2 separate regions of the Homo sapiens genome follow, and region 1 is linked to region 2. The links are contacts of gene promoters, found by promoter capture Hi-C in blood cells and fetal thymus (Javierre and others, 2016). All regions are on one chromosome and are shown on one strand. The core of a region is centred on a gene start or on the middle of the fragment in contact, and the rest is flanking DNA. Distances in the headings are between cores, read along the strand shown. Region 1 overlaps COPS8-DT (COPS8 divergent transcript). Region 2 holds the start of IQCA1-AS1 (IQCA1 antisense RNA 1).

Region 1 (2,804 bases), core at 199-2,698, 630 kb before region 2:
GCCACTGCTCTCCAGCCTGGGCGACAGAGTGAGACTCCATCTCAAAAAAAAAAAAAAAAAGAAAAAGAAAAAAACCTACAATATGATTTTTAATGTGAGATCCCACCATAGAGGATAAATTAATTGGAAAAAATTCATTCATATGAGCCACCCTGATCTATGCTTCAGGGATATCTCTATACGTGCCTAAGGCCTAAATAACACAATGCACTTTTAGACATCAAAGTCTGAGAAAAAAAAAATGGTGTGTGGAGCCCACAAGATATCAACTACCAAGTTTCTAATTTACAGAGCAGCCTGAAAGGATCAGAGAACATTCTGTAACCATGTCTGAAGTGACCACTGTAAAGTTCTTCAAGCTATGGAAAATATTGAAGTCAAATATTTACAGTACTGAAGGGCCCACATGCAATGGAAAATAACCCCCAAATTAAGAACATCTGGGGGAAAAGTCTAACGAGAGCCAAGCAATGAAAGCAGCAATAAAGATGCAGAATGCATTCGTGGAAGGCTCATGAAGAAGGGAGCCTTTTTTTCTTTTTCTTTTTCTTTTTTGTTCTGTTTTTTAGGTAATGAGGCTACCTTCCTGTGGTGAGCTTCAGGGAAGTGATTTGATTCTGTCTGACTGAGTTTACAAGCTGCCAAACGAAAAAATTGCTACTTCCCATTTCATGAAATACAGTAATTACTGATGTATAGAACTTGTAGACGATCTTAGACATTAAAACACTGGAGAAGTAAAACATATGCATATATAATTATCTAGGATCAATCAATTGAGGAATGTTTTATCTGGGTTATAGAAAAACAAGAAAGGGAGACAATTTAAAGAGAAGAAGAAAAATATTGGCTTTGCTGTAGTCAAGTCCTGGATCCATGTGTTACTTATCATTATTTTAGGCCAGTTGCCTAAACCTCTCCCAGCCTCAGTTTGCACATCTTTAAAATGGGACTCTGATAAAGATTAATTGACAGAATTGCCAGGCATCGTGGCTCATGCCTGTAATCCCAGCACTTTGGGAGGTCAAGGCGGGTGGATCACTTGAAGCCAGGGGTTTGAGACCAGCCTGGTCAACGTGGTGAAATCTCATCTCTACTAATATTCAAAAATCAGCCAGGCTTGGTGGCTCATGCCTGTAATCCCAGTACTTTGGGAGGCCATGGCAGGTGGATCACTTGAGTCCAGGGGTTTGAAACCAGCCTGGTCAACACGGGTGAAATCTCATCTCTACTAATATACAAAGATTCGCCAGGCTTGGTGGAACGTGCCTGTAACCCAGCTACTCTGGAGGCTGAAGCATAAGAATCGCTTGAACTTGGGAGGTGGAGGTTTCAGTGAGCAGAGATTGCACCACTGCTCTCCAGCCTGGGTGACAGAGCAAGACTGTCAAAAAAAAAAAAAAAAAGATTCATTGACAGAATGCAGATGAGGCACACAGCCTATAGAAAGTGCAGACCACCTGGTGTTTGCCATTACTATTATTGTCATTGTGTTGTTGTTATTGTTGTAAGTGTTGTTATTACATTTTTACTTAGGGAAGCAAGGTGTCAGAAGGAGGTTAAGATTCTATCAAACAATAGTGGCCTAATGAAAAGGACTTATAAATTTTTAAGGGTTGAAACTCTCTTGGAAGCCACATAAAATAATGGGGTGAAGTATTTTTTTTCCTTTGATGAGAACAGTTGCATGAATGCACAGGAATGCCCCTGGGGTATGTTAAGATGCTCTCATGTTGAATGTACTTGGGGGGGGGGGCGGGGAAATTAATAAAACCCAATATGAATGAACAAGGCCTCACTCCCCAAGTTTCCTCTAATCTGATATTTATAATAGGACATCATACAAGGGTAGATTCTCACAGCTGCTGTCTAGCTTAATACAAATGGTTTTGAAGTCTTGGATGCCCTTGGATGTGTGTTATTTATACTGTGCATGGTATACTCATTTAGCATTTCCACCTTGAAAACCTCCTGTTACTTAGGCATCGAGAAAACTTTGAAGTTAAGAAAGTTATAAACTTCAAAAGATTGTTATTGGTTGAGTGTACAGGATTATGGTAGGGAATCAGAAGAGGACAAAAGAATCCAGTGGTATTCAAATCATGTTAGAGACCGTTTGATGTCTGCCTGCTGTTTAGGGGCTCAATAGCAAATTGCAAAGAGCTCCTAATCATAGGTATGGTCTAAGTGCCTATTAGAATGCCTTGAGCAGTTAACAGTAGCAGCAAAAGTCTATTAAAAAAAAAAGTCAGAAACATCCAAATTTGTTGTTGGTCAAACAGGTTGGCTTAGTTACTGGCATTGTCAATGACACCAGTGGCTAAAAAACCATGATATATAATGATACGATAGAATACATATAATCATCCTTTCAGAACTGCAAGGGATGGAAGGAGATACCATGTCTGTTCAATGCCTGATGCAAAGCTAATGACTAATTCAAGTTCTTTTTGTTTTTCCTCTTCTTCCCTTCCCAGAAAACCAAATAAGTGTCCCAGTGACATTTTGCCACGGATGTTCCCACTGTTGGAATTACTGTCAACGATACGTGTTTAGTGGGTGAGGACCCAGTTTTCTTCCTGACCTGTAGGAGGGATGGAGGAAGATGGCTCTGGGTGCGGGCAGACATGTGATGGTCAAACCCTGAGGAGGAGGAACTTTCTATGCCTGGGACTGCATCAAAGCCCCTGAGTTACCAGTGATTGTGCATTCCTCTGGAATCCCTCTTTTTTCTGAACCCCAGGTCTTAGAATGGCTGCTCATAATCTAGAACAGGGTGGGACAATCAATAGCACATTTGCACC
Region 2 (3,213 bases), core at 110-2,609:
CCTACGTCTTTTTAAAATTTCATTAACCTATATCTTTTTAAAATTTTTTCTTTTTCTTTTTCTTTACCCTTCTGGAGTGTAGAAATCTGGATGAAAAAAGATGAGTCTTGGAATTTCTCTCAGGACTATGATCCAGAACTGATCAAAGAGGAGAAACGAAAAGAATTACAGTCAGAGATCAGGATACAGGTACAGCTACGTTTATGGTGTAGTAACAGCAAATCATTTACTTCAACCATTGTGCTTCTTTACAATTTCCTACTAATGACCTACCCCATAATTTAAGGGATTTTTAAACTTCACAAACAAAACACAAGACATGCAAAGTGACTTAAAAGTAGTATGTTTTGTATTCTCCTAGGTTGATGAGTTGATGAGACAGGAACTTAAAAACTTAAAGCTAGCTGTGGACAGAGAAAGGGAGCGCCCAGTGAAAGCAGGAAAGAAAAAGGACAAGGTGAGTGGGGAAGGAGCCTGCAGAGGGGTGCGGTGGAGCGGATTCAGTCATGAAAAGCAGCCCCTGACATGCTGTGGCATGTCCAGGAGGGCCGCCTGTTGCCAGGACACCTCACGGGGAAACATGCCTGCCTTTGGTAAATTTAATTGGTCCACCATTTAACCTTTGGGCCTGTGGATTCATAAATAGGATAAACCCAACCATCTGAGAGTAACATCTCCCCAGCCCCGGTCAGTTGCAGATTCATATTACCCAAGCCCCACTGATAGAATGGGAACTATCAAAAGAGCCAAAGCACATTCCCCAAACAGCCCCCAACTGTTCCTGTACATAGATCTATAAGGGAGGCCAATGGTAATGAGCAGGTTTTTGTGAGTGAGGGAATCATAGGGAAAGGAATTGGATGAATTGGAAGTGTAAGTTGCCACCAATCCATCTCACAGTGGTTTAGAGTAGCTAGTTAGATCAGGGTATTTGAAGTTCATTTAGTTTGGCCCCTGCTTCTACCTTCATTCCAGAGACAGCCCTGTCATTGGAGCCAGAATACCCAAGGTAGAGGGCGGAGAGTTCTCCCTGTCAGTGCTGGCATGAGCATAGGCAGCCTTTGCTTCTGTGGCAGCTTTCTCCACGTTCCATGACTGGAGCCACTCTTTCTGTGATTCACACATTTTCTCTTAGAGGTTTCCACACATTCAGCTGCATTTGTGACTACTTTTGCTAGATCAGGGGCCATGCATGTGGTCTTTTTAGGATGACTGGCTCTTGATCCATTTTGTGTTGATATTATGGTTTAACCCTGAAGGCAACTGAATTGGTGTTCTGAAGATCTTTCACTGTAAGCTGAAAACACCAATTTAATAACCATCCATAGATGAAAGTAACTTCACAAGAGCTCTGGGATTCAGGTGAGAGGCTGCAGCACCTGGGTGGAGCACAGAATCATAAAAAAAAAGATGCACTGAAGAGAGTAAGAATGAAAGTTTCACTTTACCCATGTCACCCCAAAGCCCACACAGCCTAGTGCCAAGAGAGATCTCCTAGACCCATGAGTTTTATCTTGGAAGAAAGGGACAGAGAAGTGAACATCTGACTTCACCATGGAGCTCAGCACCAGGCCAGTGAAACCCAGTACCATGGGCCTCCCACAAACCCTGACACCAGGCCCACCCACAAAAATCAGCACTGGGCCTGTCTTTGGACCCCAGAACCATGGGCCTCCCACAAACCCTGGGTGCACCTTGCTTCTATGGCAGCTTTCTCCACTTTTGTGGTGTAGTAATAGCAAGTCATTTACTGCAACCATTGTGCTGCTTTATTTTTGTGGGCCCACCCACAAAAATCAGCGTTGGGCCTGTCTTTGGATCCCAGAACCAGAAAAGAATCAAAGTATATCACTACAAAACATCGTTAAGTTACACAGCAACTTGTAACTTCAGAGAAGAACAAAAGAACCTCAAAATAGAAATAACCTAACAAAATGGCAAAAGTAAGTCCTTACCTTTCAAAAAATACTTCAGATGTATATGGATTAAACTCACCAATCAAAAGATACAGAGTCACTGAATGGATTTTAAAAATCCAACTATATGCTATATACATGTGATTCATTTCAGATTTAGGGACACATAGGCTGAAAGTGAAGGGATGGAAAAAAGATATCTCATGCAAATAATAAGCAAAAGAGAGAAGAAATGGCTATACTTAGACAAAATAGACGTCAAATCAAAAACTATCACAAGAAACCAAAAAGATCATTAACTAATGATAAAAGGGTCAATTCAATAGGAAGATATAACAATTATATATACACCTTTAATCAAAGCACCTAAATATATGAAGTAAATATTAACATATCTGAAGGGAGAAATAGACAGCAATACAATAATAGTAGGAGAACTCACTATCCCACTCTCAGTAATGAATGTATCATCCAGACAGAAAATCAATAAGGAAACAGCAGACTTGAATAATACTAGGGACCAGATAGTCCTAACAGTTATTGTACCCAACAGCACCAGAATACACATTCTTCTCGAGTATGCATGGAACATTCTCCAGGATATATCACATGCTAAGTCACAAAACAAGTCTTAATAAATATAAGAATATTGAAAACATTCCAAGTAACTTCCAGCTGCAATGAAATGAAACTAGAAATCAATAACAAAAAGAATACAGAAAAATTCACAAATATGCGGAAATTAAACAACACACTCTTGAATAACCATTGAGTCAAAGAAAAAAATTCGCAGGGAAATTAGAAAATATCTCAAGACAAAAATGACAGGCAGAGGAGCCAAGATGGCCGAATAGGAACAGCTCCGGCCTACAGCTCCCAGTGTGAGCGACGCAGAAGACGGGTGATTTCTGCATTTCCATCTGAGGTACCGGGTTCATCTCACTAGGGAGTGCCAGACAGTGGGCACAGGTCAGTGGGTGCGCGCACCGGTCGCGAGCCGAAGCAGGGCGAGGCATTGCCTCACTCGGGAAGCGCAAGGGGTCAGGGAGTTCCCTTTCTGAGTCAAAGAAAGGGGTGACGGACGGCACCTGGAAAATTGGGTCACTCCCACCCGAATACTGCGCTTTTCCGACGGGCTTAAAAAACGGTGCACCACGAGATTATATCCGGCACCTGGCTCCGAGGGTCCTACGCCCATGGAGTCTCGCTGGTTGCTAGCACAGCAGTCTGAGATCAAACTGCAAGGCGGCAGCGAGGCTGGGGGAGGGGCGCCCGCCATTGCCCAGGCTTGATTAGG

Evidence for each region. The method cuts DNA at HindIII sites, captures the fragments that hold promoters and counts their contacts. A CHiCAGO score of 5 or more calls a contact.
Region 1: a contact is called between a fragment that was not itself captured here and the fragment with the promoter of IQCA1-AS1 in region 2, in 1 of 17 cell types (naive B cells). The highest score is 6.6, in naive B cells.

The regions. Positions count from the first base shown.
Region 1 is chr2:237,017,893-237,020,696 of GRCh38, reverse strand. All of the region lies in intron 1 of COPS8-DT (COPS8 divergent transcript), which reads left to right. Among named protein-coding and RNA genes, the nearest start is that of COPS8-DT, 67 kb to the left of the region's middle. The HindIII fragment of the contact is 4,861 bases long and covers 1-2,804 here.
Region 2 is chr2:236,389,220-236,392,432 of GRCh38, reverse strand. It overlaps IQCA1-AS1 (IQCA1 antisense RNA 1), which reads right to left and starts at 1,359. Exons shown (of 2, transcript NR_174961.1): 1 at 965-1,359; 2 at 57-138. DRC11 (dynein regulatory complex subunit 11) reads left to right here. Exons shown (of 19, transcript NM_024726.5): 10 at 83-189; 11 at 362-457. RefSeq lists an enhancer at 1-1,039. The HindIII fragment of the contact is 7,674 bases long and covers 1-3,213 here.